Regions from separate parts of the Homo sapiens genome. Here region 1 is linked to region 2. Evidence: promoter capture Hi-C in 16 types of primary human blood cells and fetal thymus (Javierre and others, 2016). All regions are on one chromosome and are shown on one strand. Each heading gives the region's core, a stretch centred on a gene start or on the middle of the fragment in contact. The rest is flanking DNA. Distances are from core to core; before and after follow the strand shown.

What was found. The method cuts DNA at HindIII sites, captures the fragments that hold promoters and counts their contacts. A CHiCAGO score of 5 or more calls a contact.
Region 1: a contact is called between the fragment with the promoter of OLIG3 here and the fragment with the promoter of SLC35D3 in region 2, in 16 of 17 cell types (fetal thymus, M0 macrophages, total B cells and 13 more). The highest score is 24.3, in fetal thymus.

The regions. Positions count from the first base shown.
Region 1 is chr6:137,492,294-137,497,770 of GRCh38, reverse strand. OLIG3 (oligodendrocyte transcription factor 3) reads left to right here and starts at 3,377. Exons shown (of 1, transcript NM_175747.2): 1 at 3,377-5,477. The coding sequence starts at 3,601. The coding sequence ends at 4,419. RefSeq lists enhancers at 1,220-1,752, 1,753-2,286, 3,968-4,467. The HindIII fragment of the contact is 6,431 bases long and covers 822-5,477 here.
Region 2 is chr6:136,919,554-136,924,889 of GRCh38, reverse strand. It overlaps SLC35D3 (solute carrier family 35 member D3), which reads right to left and starts at 2,589. Exons shown (of 2, transcript NM_001008783.3): 1 at 2,023-2,589; 2 at 1-1,005. The coding sequence starts at 2,461. The coding sequence ends at 194. RefSeq lists an enhancer at 3,061-3,567. The HindIII fragment of the contact is 1,879 bases long and covers 1,477-3,355 here.

The DNA.
Region 1 (5,477 bases), core at 2,128-4,627, 570 kb before region 2:
TCGCTCGCTCCGGCTCCTCGCCGGTCTGAGCCCTCCGAAAGGGGTCTCGGCCAGGGCCAAGGTCATGGTGCGTCTCCGGCTGAGCCTCTGTAGGCTGCTGCAGCCTTGGCCAGGCGGCGACTCCTTTACTCTCTCCTTCCGTACAAGTCTGGGGTGGGCGTTGGTAGTCAGCCCTCAGAAAGAAATCCGTGTGCCTGCCCTCCTGAGCTCCGGGCCTGCTCCTTCTCGGGTTCAGGGCTCAATCCGAGGAACTGAGCTGCGGTGGCGGGGGTCGAAAAGAGACTCCACGAAGCAAGACGTGCGGGGCGACTCAGCCTTTTGGGCCCCGGCGAGTATTAACCCATTTTACGGTAAGCAAAGTTGTGGCACCTTTACTCACTCCCCTCGTCTAGTTGTCAAGCCCCGCAACGGATGGGAAGTGGGGGAACTAGCTTCTAAAAGTACTTACTGGAAGGAGGCCCTGAACCTTGGACCACCCACACTCACGCATTACGGACCTTCGAAAAAGCAGAGGGTGACCGAGGAGCGGAGGGCGCGCCACGTCCCGGCCTCGGAGCCAGGGAGTCCCGGCCTGGTCCCCGCAGATCTCCCATTTCAGGCACCTCTGTTACTGGAGCTGAAAACCCTTAGGGAAGAAGGAAGGGAATGTCCTGGTCTGTTCGGGCAAAGGCCCAGTCGCCCCTTCCCGGCCCATCGCAGCCCCCTCGGAACCGGCTGCGGCAGGCGTCAGCCCCCTCTCGGCTGAAAGGCTGTGCTGAAGGAGAGTGGCTTCTGGTTTGGACTCCCAGAACCCTGGCCCCGGACTTCCAGCCCCGCAAGCTTGTATTTCGAGGGCTGCTCTACCCTCCTTCCCTCCCCTCCCCCCGCCCACGGCTTGCCACCTTCGTTACTAATTTGGGGGAGATTTTAAAACTTTATTTTACATTGTCCACTGGGAAAATCAAGACTTTTTTTAAAGGGTAAAATATCTTGTAGCAACATGATTTTTCCACTCCTTCATTTGCAACCCTTCTGCTCTGACCAGACAATTCTACTTCCCCAAATCAAAACTCAGGTGCAGCGTTTTCAGTCTGGGTGTGGGAAGGACAGACGCCGCCGACGACCTAGGGTCAGGGAGGTGGCTCAGGAGGACGGCGGGGGCCAGACCTGTGCACCGTCCGCAGGGCGGGGAAGCTGCTCTTCGTCCAGTCCAGTGCTCGCTCCCAATGCCCTCCCCCGTCCGCCTCTCTCTCCTCACCCCATTTGATCAGCAGGGGAGTCGCAGAGGGTTGTCGTTAGGACTAGCCACTAGCTTCCTCCCATCACCTGGGACTGCACAAGTTCTGGAGCACTTCCCCCCTCCCCTCCTTTTTTAAATAACCAGGAAGACTTAGTGTATGTCACTATCTTATTGGCGAGTCTGGTGAATTAAGAAACATTCTTTATGCTTGGTATTAGGAATGCTTTTGGACATTAGTCTTTCCACATCCAATCTAACCTCTTGAATTAAGAAACTTTCCTTCCACCGAGATGAAGGTGGTAGAAGAGGCTCCTGTCCAATCTGCAAGAGCACTAACTTCCTGGCCTTGACGAAGGGCTGTTGGCCATTTTTCCCCCATTACAGAAAAACAAAATTCGGTGTAGCAAAAGCATCCATGCCAATGTTGCGTTTGCCCATCCTTCTGGTATTGGCCAGAGCTGCCTTCGCAGCGTGACTGTCAGTGGGGCACAGCCTCAGAGCGTGCAAACTCCGGACCTGGGCGCGCATCCCTCTCCCACTGACCGCTCGGTTTGAGTCAAGGGAAAGGGGGGCATCCTGTTCTTCGAAGTGACTCAGCGGCGCAAGAGGCCCCAAGTGCCCGAGGTTCCGCGATTGATTCGATTTCACACTTCCACCGAGACTCTCAGTCACTAGCTAGCGTTTGTTTCCCGTTCCACCAAGCCGGGAGAGGGGCGGTGTCCGGGTTCTTCTAGAGACCACTCCTGGGGCTCTCTCCCTTCCCGGGATTTCTGCCTTCCCGCCCCTCGTGCTGCTGAGCTAAAGTCTTGATCACAAAAACACAGCAAGGGGGAAGAAAGATCTACGCCCACCTCCGCACTCGCACCGAAGGCTCCAAACTCCGACCTCCTCTTTATTCCCAGAAACGACTCTGCGCTGAACCGCAGTGCCCGGGCACGCACAAGGGGCTTTCTAGGTCCTTTCGTTGTTTCCCTTCCCCCGTGCTTCTTTGCCCACGCACCCCACCCCCCCGCCCCACCACCCCGACATCAGATAGTTTATTATGAGCTTCTGATTTCCCTGTCCGACGCCGTACGGCGGCCCCAGCCTGGTGGACCCACCCGCGCAGGCCGGGGTGCCGCTGAGTTCCCGGAGCTCGGGGCACGTCAGCACAGCGGCCAGAGGAGGCCCGGCGGAGCTTCGGGCGCGGACCGTCCCACCGTTTTGCGCCAGCGCCAAGGTCCAGGAAGCCTGGAGTGGGAACAATCTCTCTGGAGCTCTCAGGAACCTAACAATCTCTCTCTCTGCCTCCTTGGCTCCTTTTCCTTCCCATCCTCCCAAGTTGCTTTTCTTGTGACATTAACATTTTTTTTTCGCAGTTTTTGGTCTAGGAAGTTAAAGAATTGTGCAAAACTGAAATTCTTTTAGAAATCCATGTTTTAAAACGAAAGAGAGGACACAGAAAATAAGAGACCTCTCCGCCACAATACTGCCAGGAGCAAAGCCATCACCGAACATGGACATCCCGTTGAAACCACACCAGAAGGGCCCAATAAACAAAATTGACAGAATGGAAGTGTTTAGGAAAAGAGATCTAATGAAAAAAAAATATTGAGACAGAGAAAGTCGGCATGCAGTCTTCCCACCACCCCCAGCCCCCGCTGGCAGCACCTTCCCTCCGACCGCACCTCTGTCCCTCAAACCTTTCCACTGAGACCTATTTTTGCCCATATTTCTCTAAACTTGGGAGCAGCCAGGAAAGAAAGGAGAGCGAATGTTTCAATTCCTCTCTCCAAACTCAGAGGAACCTCCACCAACCGCCTGGCCACCTTCTCTTGCCTTCCTTCCGTTCCTGATGTGTGATTTGGTTAGAGAAATTGGGAAGGGGGGTGGGGTGGAAGAAAGTTAAAAAAAAAATCAGGAAGGCGTAAGCTGGAGCGGTGAGTGTGTCAATCAGAGGGTTTTGTGCCTGGGGGCTCCTAGCGGTTCGGAGCAGAGGTGTCCCAGGGCGGCCCCACAATGAATATGAATAGGAATCCTTGCTAAATGGGACAGCAAAGCGCACCGCCCTGAATGATGGCACGTCATCCTAACCAGCCCAGGATAGATAGGAGGGCTCCTTTTGTCTCTTTTCTCCGCCGCAGCTCTATAAAAGCCCCTCTTTTTCAGCGTGAGGTTAGTTCAAGCACACACCAACTAGCTGTCCAGGAAGCAGCCTAACCAGAGAGAGGGGCGTGGGAGGGAGAGAGGCGGGGAAAAGCAGCGTCTCCGCTTTTCTTCTCACGTCTTGCCGCGGAGAAGTGGGTTCCTGGGCAGTGCAGATTTTTTTTTTTTAATTCAAGATTTTCTTTAATTTCCCGCCTAAAGCCTCCCCACGGTAGGGCCGCATCCCCTGTAATAAAATGAATTCTGATTCGAGCTCTGTCTCCAGCAGAGCTTCATCTCCGGACATGGATGAGATGTACCTGAGGGACCACCACCACCGCCACCACCACCACCAGGAGAGCCGTCTCAACTCGGTCTCGTCCACGCAGGGCGATATGATGCAGAAGATGCCCGGGGAAAGCCTCTCGCGGGCTGGCGCCAAGGCCGCGGGAGAGAGCAGCAAGTACAAAATCAAGAAGCAGCTGTCGGAGCAGGACCTACAGCAGTTGAGGCTGAAGATCAACGGACGCGAACGCAAGCGGATGCACGACCTGAACCTAGCCATGGACGGGCTGCGCGAAGTCATGCCCTACGCGCATGGGCCGTCGGTGCGCAAGCTCTCCAAGATCGCCACACTCCTGCTCGCCAGAAACTACATCCTCATGCTCACCAGCTCCCTGGAGGAGATGAAGAGGCTGGTTGGCGAGATCTATGGGGGCCACCACTCGGCCTTTCACTGCGGGACCGTGGGCCACTCGGCCGGCCACCCCGCGCACGCGGCCAACTCCGTGCACCCGGTGCACCCCATCTTGGGCGGCGCGCTCTCATCTGGCAACGCCTCGTCACCGCTGTCCGCCGCCTCACTTCCCGCCATCGGCACCATCCGGCCTCCCCACTCGCTACTCAAGGCGCCCTCCACGCCGCCCGCGCTGCAGCTGGGCAGCGGCTTCCAGCACTGGGCTGGTCTGCCCTGCCCCTGCACCATCTGCCAGATGCCGCCGCCGCCGCACCTGTCCGCTCTCTCCACAGCCAACATGGCCCGGCTGTCGGCCGAGTCCAAGGACTTGCTCAAGTGAGCAGCGGGCGGGCCCGGCTGCCAAGGAGGAGGGAGAGCGGCGGGAGGGGCCGCGGTGCCGGGCCGGGAGGGAAGAGGGAGGCTGCACGCTCGGCCCACGGGAGGGCAGGCTCCGGGGCCCGCAGCCTCCCACGCTGTCTGAGAGATCTCAGACTCCACTTGACCCCCGGAGGGAAAGGACCAAAATCAAACCGCAATTTCTAGGTGGTAGCAAAGGGGGACTCGAACCAGATGTCGTGTGTTTTGCATGCATGCTTCTTTTCCCCATGCCGCGCCAGTATTTTTCACTGCCATATGCTCTTGTCAAAACTGCATTTGTTGTATAAAGATGGGATCGGTGTAGTTAAAAACTTGCGAAGGGACTTTTGAGTTGGCTTTCTCTGACTCTGTGTTCTCGCTTTGGAAAAAGACGGCCATCCCTTTTGTGCAAAACAAATGTAAATATTTTCTTGAGATGGATGCGATTATGATTGTCTCTGTCCTTGCCACAGTTTTTCTAGAGACAATGGAGAGAGAAAGAGAGAGAGAGCGCGAGAGAGATCAAGACCCAAGTTTTGAATCTCAACCGAGGTCCAGGGCATGACACCTCCTATGTGGGTTTTCCTTTCGACGCAGTGTAGGTCAAAAGAATGCATGCACGCTTCTAAATGAATCTTGTCTGAATATGTCGTGCAGGCTGTGGTGCCGTTTTCCTTGTAACAAGGATTTATTAGTGAATTATCCCAAGTACTCCATATATCTGTCTGTGGTTGTATGAAATGAAAAAAGGGGCAGAGTGCAAAGACCCACACTCACGCACACGCGCTTCTTCTCCCACCCCCACCCCCTTCAAACTTTATTCGGAACCTTCCTTTGCTGTTCTGGGGCCGCTATTGTAAAAGCCTGGGCTCCCTCTAGTAGCTTGCGCCACCCCCCCTCGCTCAGTTATTCTGCATGCGGGGTTGGCTCTCTCTATTATCAGCTTTGAAAACTTATCCTGGTTTTGGGAGGGGTGCCGTTTTTATTTTCCTGAACATTTGCTTGAAATATTTTGTTAGGGCCTCAAAGACGATACCTGTC
Region 2 (5,336 bases), core at 1,340-3,839:
CTCAGGTGAAGTCACACTAAATAATTCACACAGGTGCTAATTTTGTTGCTCTGTGTCAGTACCTTTCAGCTTCTTTCTTTTCTTCCCTTCCCCACTCCTCAAAGAATAAAACGGGGAGGCCTCTCATTAAAACACGTCATTTCTAACATATAAAATAAGTGTATGCACATAGGTACGTACATGCACCTCCTTCTCAAGGACTGGGTAACTCCTCGTTTTCTATCAAATAATCCTTCTTCATATACCTGGTTCCCCTAACCAACCTCCATACCTCGAGGTAAGCATCTTTTAACGACCTCCTGCTCCCTTCTTCAGAGCTCCCAGCCACCAGCGGGACTCCTCGGGGGCTGCCCCTGACCTCTTGCCTGCTCTCCTGAGCGGGGCCACCTGCTGCCTCCCCACCTTCTGACCGGCCATTTCCTCCCTCCCCGGGCAGCTCCTCCATCACGAACGGCAGCTGGTCTCCACTTAGCTGCGCCTCCTCTCCCCGAGGCTGGGCCTCCAGGTCCTCGTAGTTGCTTTGCTTTCTGGTCTCCATGAACTTGGCCACACAGTAAATGATAGAGCCCAGGGTGTTCACCACCACGCCGGCAATGAACAGAGAGGTGGGCTCCACGTCGCTGAAGGCCACCATGCCCACCGTGATGGTGGCGATGCTCTTCACCACACCCACGAAGCTGGTGGTCACGGCCGAATTGATGTAGGTGCAGTGCAGCGTGGTGAAGTTCATGGCGCAGCCGATCAGGATGCAGGCCACGAAGATGCAGACCATGGCCGGGTCCTTCCAGCCCGGGAAGGTCCAGGCGTGGATGGAGTCGGTGCTGGCGAAGGAGCAGATGACCAGCAGCGGGGTGGCAGAGACGGCGATGACGTACTGCGCGGTGAGCGGCCCGTGCTCGGTGTCTGCGCTGGCCTTCTGGATGAGCACCAGGTAGGCAGCGTGCACCAGCACCGCCAGCACTCCCGTGACGTACCCGATGGGGTCGCCCGTCAGGTCGCCGGCTCCTGCGGCGCACGAGGAGGACGGCCGAGCCCGGGCGGGAAGGAAAAAGAGAGAAGACAGCAGGTTGGCGTGGGCGGGGACCCACGGGGAAAACGCGTCGGGTAGGAAAGGAGACTGGGTTCGCGCCCCAGCTCTGCCCACCGGATTCCTGAGTGACAGACGCCCGCCGTCCCTCGGCCACCCGTGTCAAATGCGACAGCCAAACTCAGTGCTCAGAGCGCCTTCCCGCCATATCCCCGGGTCACTCCATCTTCCTCTGTCCAAGACAAAGGCCCCGGAGAGCGCAGATGCCCTCGGGGCAGGTGCTGTGGCTTCCCCGAGCTGGCACCGAGGTCACTTGGGCGCGTGGTACCTGCACCCCGGAGCCCCTGCCCCGTGGGGCACCAAAGGGAGAGGGAGCCCCAGCCAGTGGCCTGCAACCCGGAGCGGGCCAGGCGCGGGGGAGAACGCCTGTTCTGGCCCCCAGTGAAGCTTCCCCCTGCCCAGGCTCTCGTCTCGCTCAGCACCTGGGTCGTCTGCCCCAGGGCCGCAGCCCCCTGCGCAGCACGAGACACCCCGCAGTAGCCCCGGGAACCCTCAGCTTCGCCCCCATCCCCCACCTCCATTCCAGCCCCTCGTGACCCAAGGAAGTTCACGGCCCCCTCCTTCCGGCTTGGTCCAGGCTTGGAGGACTCCAGCTCCCAGGCTCAGGCGGCCCTCCCACCTCTCCCGGAGAATGGGGTGACAGGGGAAGACCAGGAGAGGGGGCGACAGGAAGGGCGATGCCGGGTGAAGCATGGGCGAGGGTCGGAAGCCAGGACATTAGGGGGCAGGGGGACTTGGTGGGGCGCTGGGGAGCTCTCTGGGTCTCGGAAGTCCCTTTTGCGAGCTGAGCGACCACTCTCAAAGCTCTCCGGCTCTCTCTGCCTCAGTCTCCCCATCTGGAAGTGAGGTCGTTGAACTCAGTGATCCCCGCGGTCTCTGCCCGACGGAGCGGGGTGGGTGGGGTCGGCTGGGGGTCGGCGCGGGGGCCCGCTCACCTGCCAGGGCGGCGCCGCAGGTGGTGATGAGCACCGCCGCCAGCACCCCTGGCGAGGGCGCGCCGTTCTTGAGCACCAGGACGCCGATGAGCATGGTGACCAGGGGCAGGCAGCGCTTGAAGACCACGTACATGGGCAGGCTGAGGCCGCGCAGGGACCAGAGCGTGAGGCTGGACTGCAGCGTGGAGAGCACCGCGACCCCCGCGAAGGAGCGCGCCAGGCTCAGACCGAAGGGGGGCACGGCGATGAGCCCGAGGCGCCGCAGCAGCTCCAGGCTCAGCGCCGCGGTGGAGCTGGTCAGGCACTGCACCAGGGTCAGGAAGGAGAACTGGTAGCGGCTGATGAGGAACTTGAGCAAGATGTTGAGGGAGCCCGAGAAGACCCCGTGCGCGATGGCCACCGAGATGCCCAGCACGCGGCCCCGGCACAGCTGCCGCATCGCGCCGGCCTCGCCGCACCCAGCGGTGGCGGAGCTCCGCGACCTGCGCGCGAGGAGCCGGGAGCAGCGGAGTGAGGGCGGCGGGGGCGCCCGCCCAGCGCGGCGGCGAAGGGCAGGGGGCGCCGGCTCGGCTGCAGAGGGCAGCTCCGGCCAGGCGTTCTTGCGGTTAGGCAGCTCTGCGTCCGACTGCCCCGCAGCTCCGGGGAGGCAGTGACGAGGGCGGGGGACTCCGAAAAGTGGCAGAGGTGGCGGGGGGGCCGGTCTGAGAGGAGTGGCGGGAATCCTAGCGACAGCTATTTGTAAGTGGGTGATGAGCCGCGGTGGGTTGTGTCCCGCGCGGTTTCACCGTCAGGGAAGACGCTCTGCGGAGGGAAGCGGGCGGCTGGGCGCCCCGGGGCGGCTGCCGCAGGGCGGGACGGGGGCTCTTGGGGCGCGGCGCCCCTCTCCCCCCACAGAGCCAGCGGCTCTCGCTTGCCCCTTCCTCCTGGCCGAGGGGCTTGGGTTGGAGGGATCGGGACACAGCTAAAGATTTTAGAAACAGCGCATCAGGATCGAGCGCCGTTTATTGGTCGCAACAAGTGACGGCGCCCCCAGCCCCCTCGCCCCGGCGCTGCAGCGGCTTTTTCCACCCACTGTCCCTCCCGGTGCAGCGGCGGGACCTCGTCCAGCTGCCCGCCAGGGAAGCGAAAACCGTCGGTGCCGGCGGGCCCCCGAAGCTCCCGATCCCGGCGACGACGCCCGGGCATCGGAGGAGGAACCCGCGGCCCGGGGCGCTGTCCAGGGGGTGCCTCGGAGCCCGGAAGCTGGCTCCTTCCGGTGCCAGGCCACGCGCACCGCTCTCCGCACGCCTTCCAGAGAGGGTCCCGGGATTATGCGCGCGGCTCCGGGGAAGCTTTCAGGGGGTTCAGTGGTCTCGCCCAGCAGCGGGGCCTGGTGGCGGGGACACATTCGAACTGAGGCAAAGATGAAAATAAGCAAACGCGCAGAAACGAAGTCACTAACACGAGTAGCCACCACCAGGAACCGAGGAGCTCGGGGGCGACGCTTCCCGAAGCGTGGGAGGGGAGGCTGGCTGCGCTCGCAGAATGGGAGAGTAGAGGGGGAGGGGGCGGGAACCCGGGGCCCCTCACCCTGCAGGGAGACTCCGCGTGGCGTTCTCCGGATCCCAGGGAACTGATCCCAGGGAACCCTCACCCTGCGGGACCGTCGTGGGTTGCTTTCGGAAGCAGGACAACCGGCAGGCGGAGGGCGGGGAGAGTCACCACCTCCCTGGGCCAGGGTTCACACCTTTGCACCACAGGACTTGTGAACTGTGTGTTTCCTATATGACTAAGAGAAAAAGGGAATTCTAATTTTGGAGAGGGAGTAAGGCTTCGGTAACTCTTTGTTCTGAATTCAGTTCCCTGGAAAGTAACTCGCGCGGACCTGTAGTTAAATCAGCAGCAGCCAAGGGTTTCGCTCAGCCGAGGTAACCGTTAAGCGCCAGACAGTTTGGTTTTCAGGCGATTTGAAATTTGTGGCCTTGGCCAGGGTTTGGCTATAAGGGAAAGGTTCGAGATCGCTGCGCTCCAGCACCCCTTTCGTTCACCACCAGCAGTTTATTTCTCTTAGCCCCGGGAATCGTAACCTCCTAACCTTTTAGCGCTGCATCACGTTGCCTTAATAGACAGGATCCATTTCTCTCGTGGTTCTTCTGTTTTCTGCCTCTTACTTCCACCTCTGTGCTGAACGCGACACTTCAGCCAAAGTGCTGAAGTCGTGATTTACCGCAACAGAGGAAGAAAAAAAAATTACAGCAGGGATCAGCAGCATCACAGCAGCCCTTCATTTGGGCCAGCATTTGGGGCTCTGGATGCTCACTTTGGTGAGCTCTAGAGAGCTCGGGGTCAACCAGTCCACCAGCTTATGTGCCCGGTGCCTAGGAGGGCCACGTCCCTGCTCCCGACAGGTGGGCACTCAAAAAAAGTTTGTGAATGGCCCAGGGTGCCAACTTTCCAGGAATAGCTGGAAAGCATTATACTGAAACACGTGCTTCCGGTTCTCTGGGGAGCCCTTGGTTTTTGTTGCTAAAACTTGTGGTTACACACTATTGGCTGTTTAAGTGACTCTGTTTTTGTAGAGTTAATGTTATTTAGGAAATAATGAAGTCTGAAGCACCAGTTCAAATTATGTGTATGTGTGTGGTATAGTCAAAATATATTGATTCAAAACTCTGAAAATTAACTTTTTACAGATATCAGCAAATAACAGATTTCTGCTTCTAGAGACTATCCCAATAAAAGCATGGCTGCTTTAAGCCATCCTAAGTGCATATTATTAATATAAAGAAGTGGCTGCACAAACCTACTTTTGGAATGATTCATTTCTGCCCGCAATTATAATTGCATCCATTTGTGATACTAACATTAGGTAAAAGATTTGGGGCTGATTCAGCTATCTTACTCTTCTCATTTATGCAAGACAATTTAGCTTAATATTTGAAACCTACAGAGGCATAAAACCGCACATTTTCTCCACTTTGTTGCATGCAATTCTTTTGGAAAGAAAAAAACCTTAACCCCCATCTCCCACAAAACCAGATACTAGATGAGCTCCTTTTAAAAATTGTGAAAAATTAAGAATACCATGTTTAGCGAGGTTAAATGATCTAGATGAATAAAAATGTAGATCTAAAGGTTAAATAGCTATTTGACCTATTGGTATCAGGGTACCAAGGGTCTAGACTCAAGCACATCACCTTTGGAGCTACTTAATAAATATTAATGACATTAAATAAATCCTTTAGTTTATCCATTCATTCAACAAACATATAGTACAAGTATTTTGTGCTAAGTATTCTGTTAGCCACAGAGGACTTAAAGATGAACACAGCGCC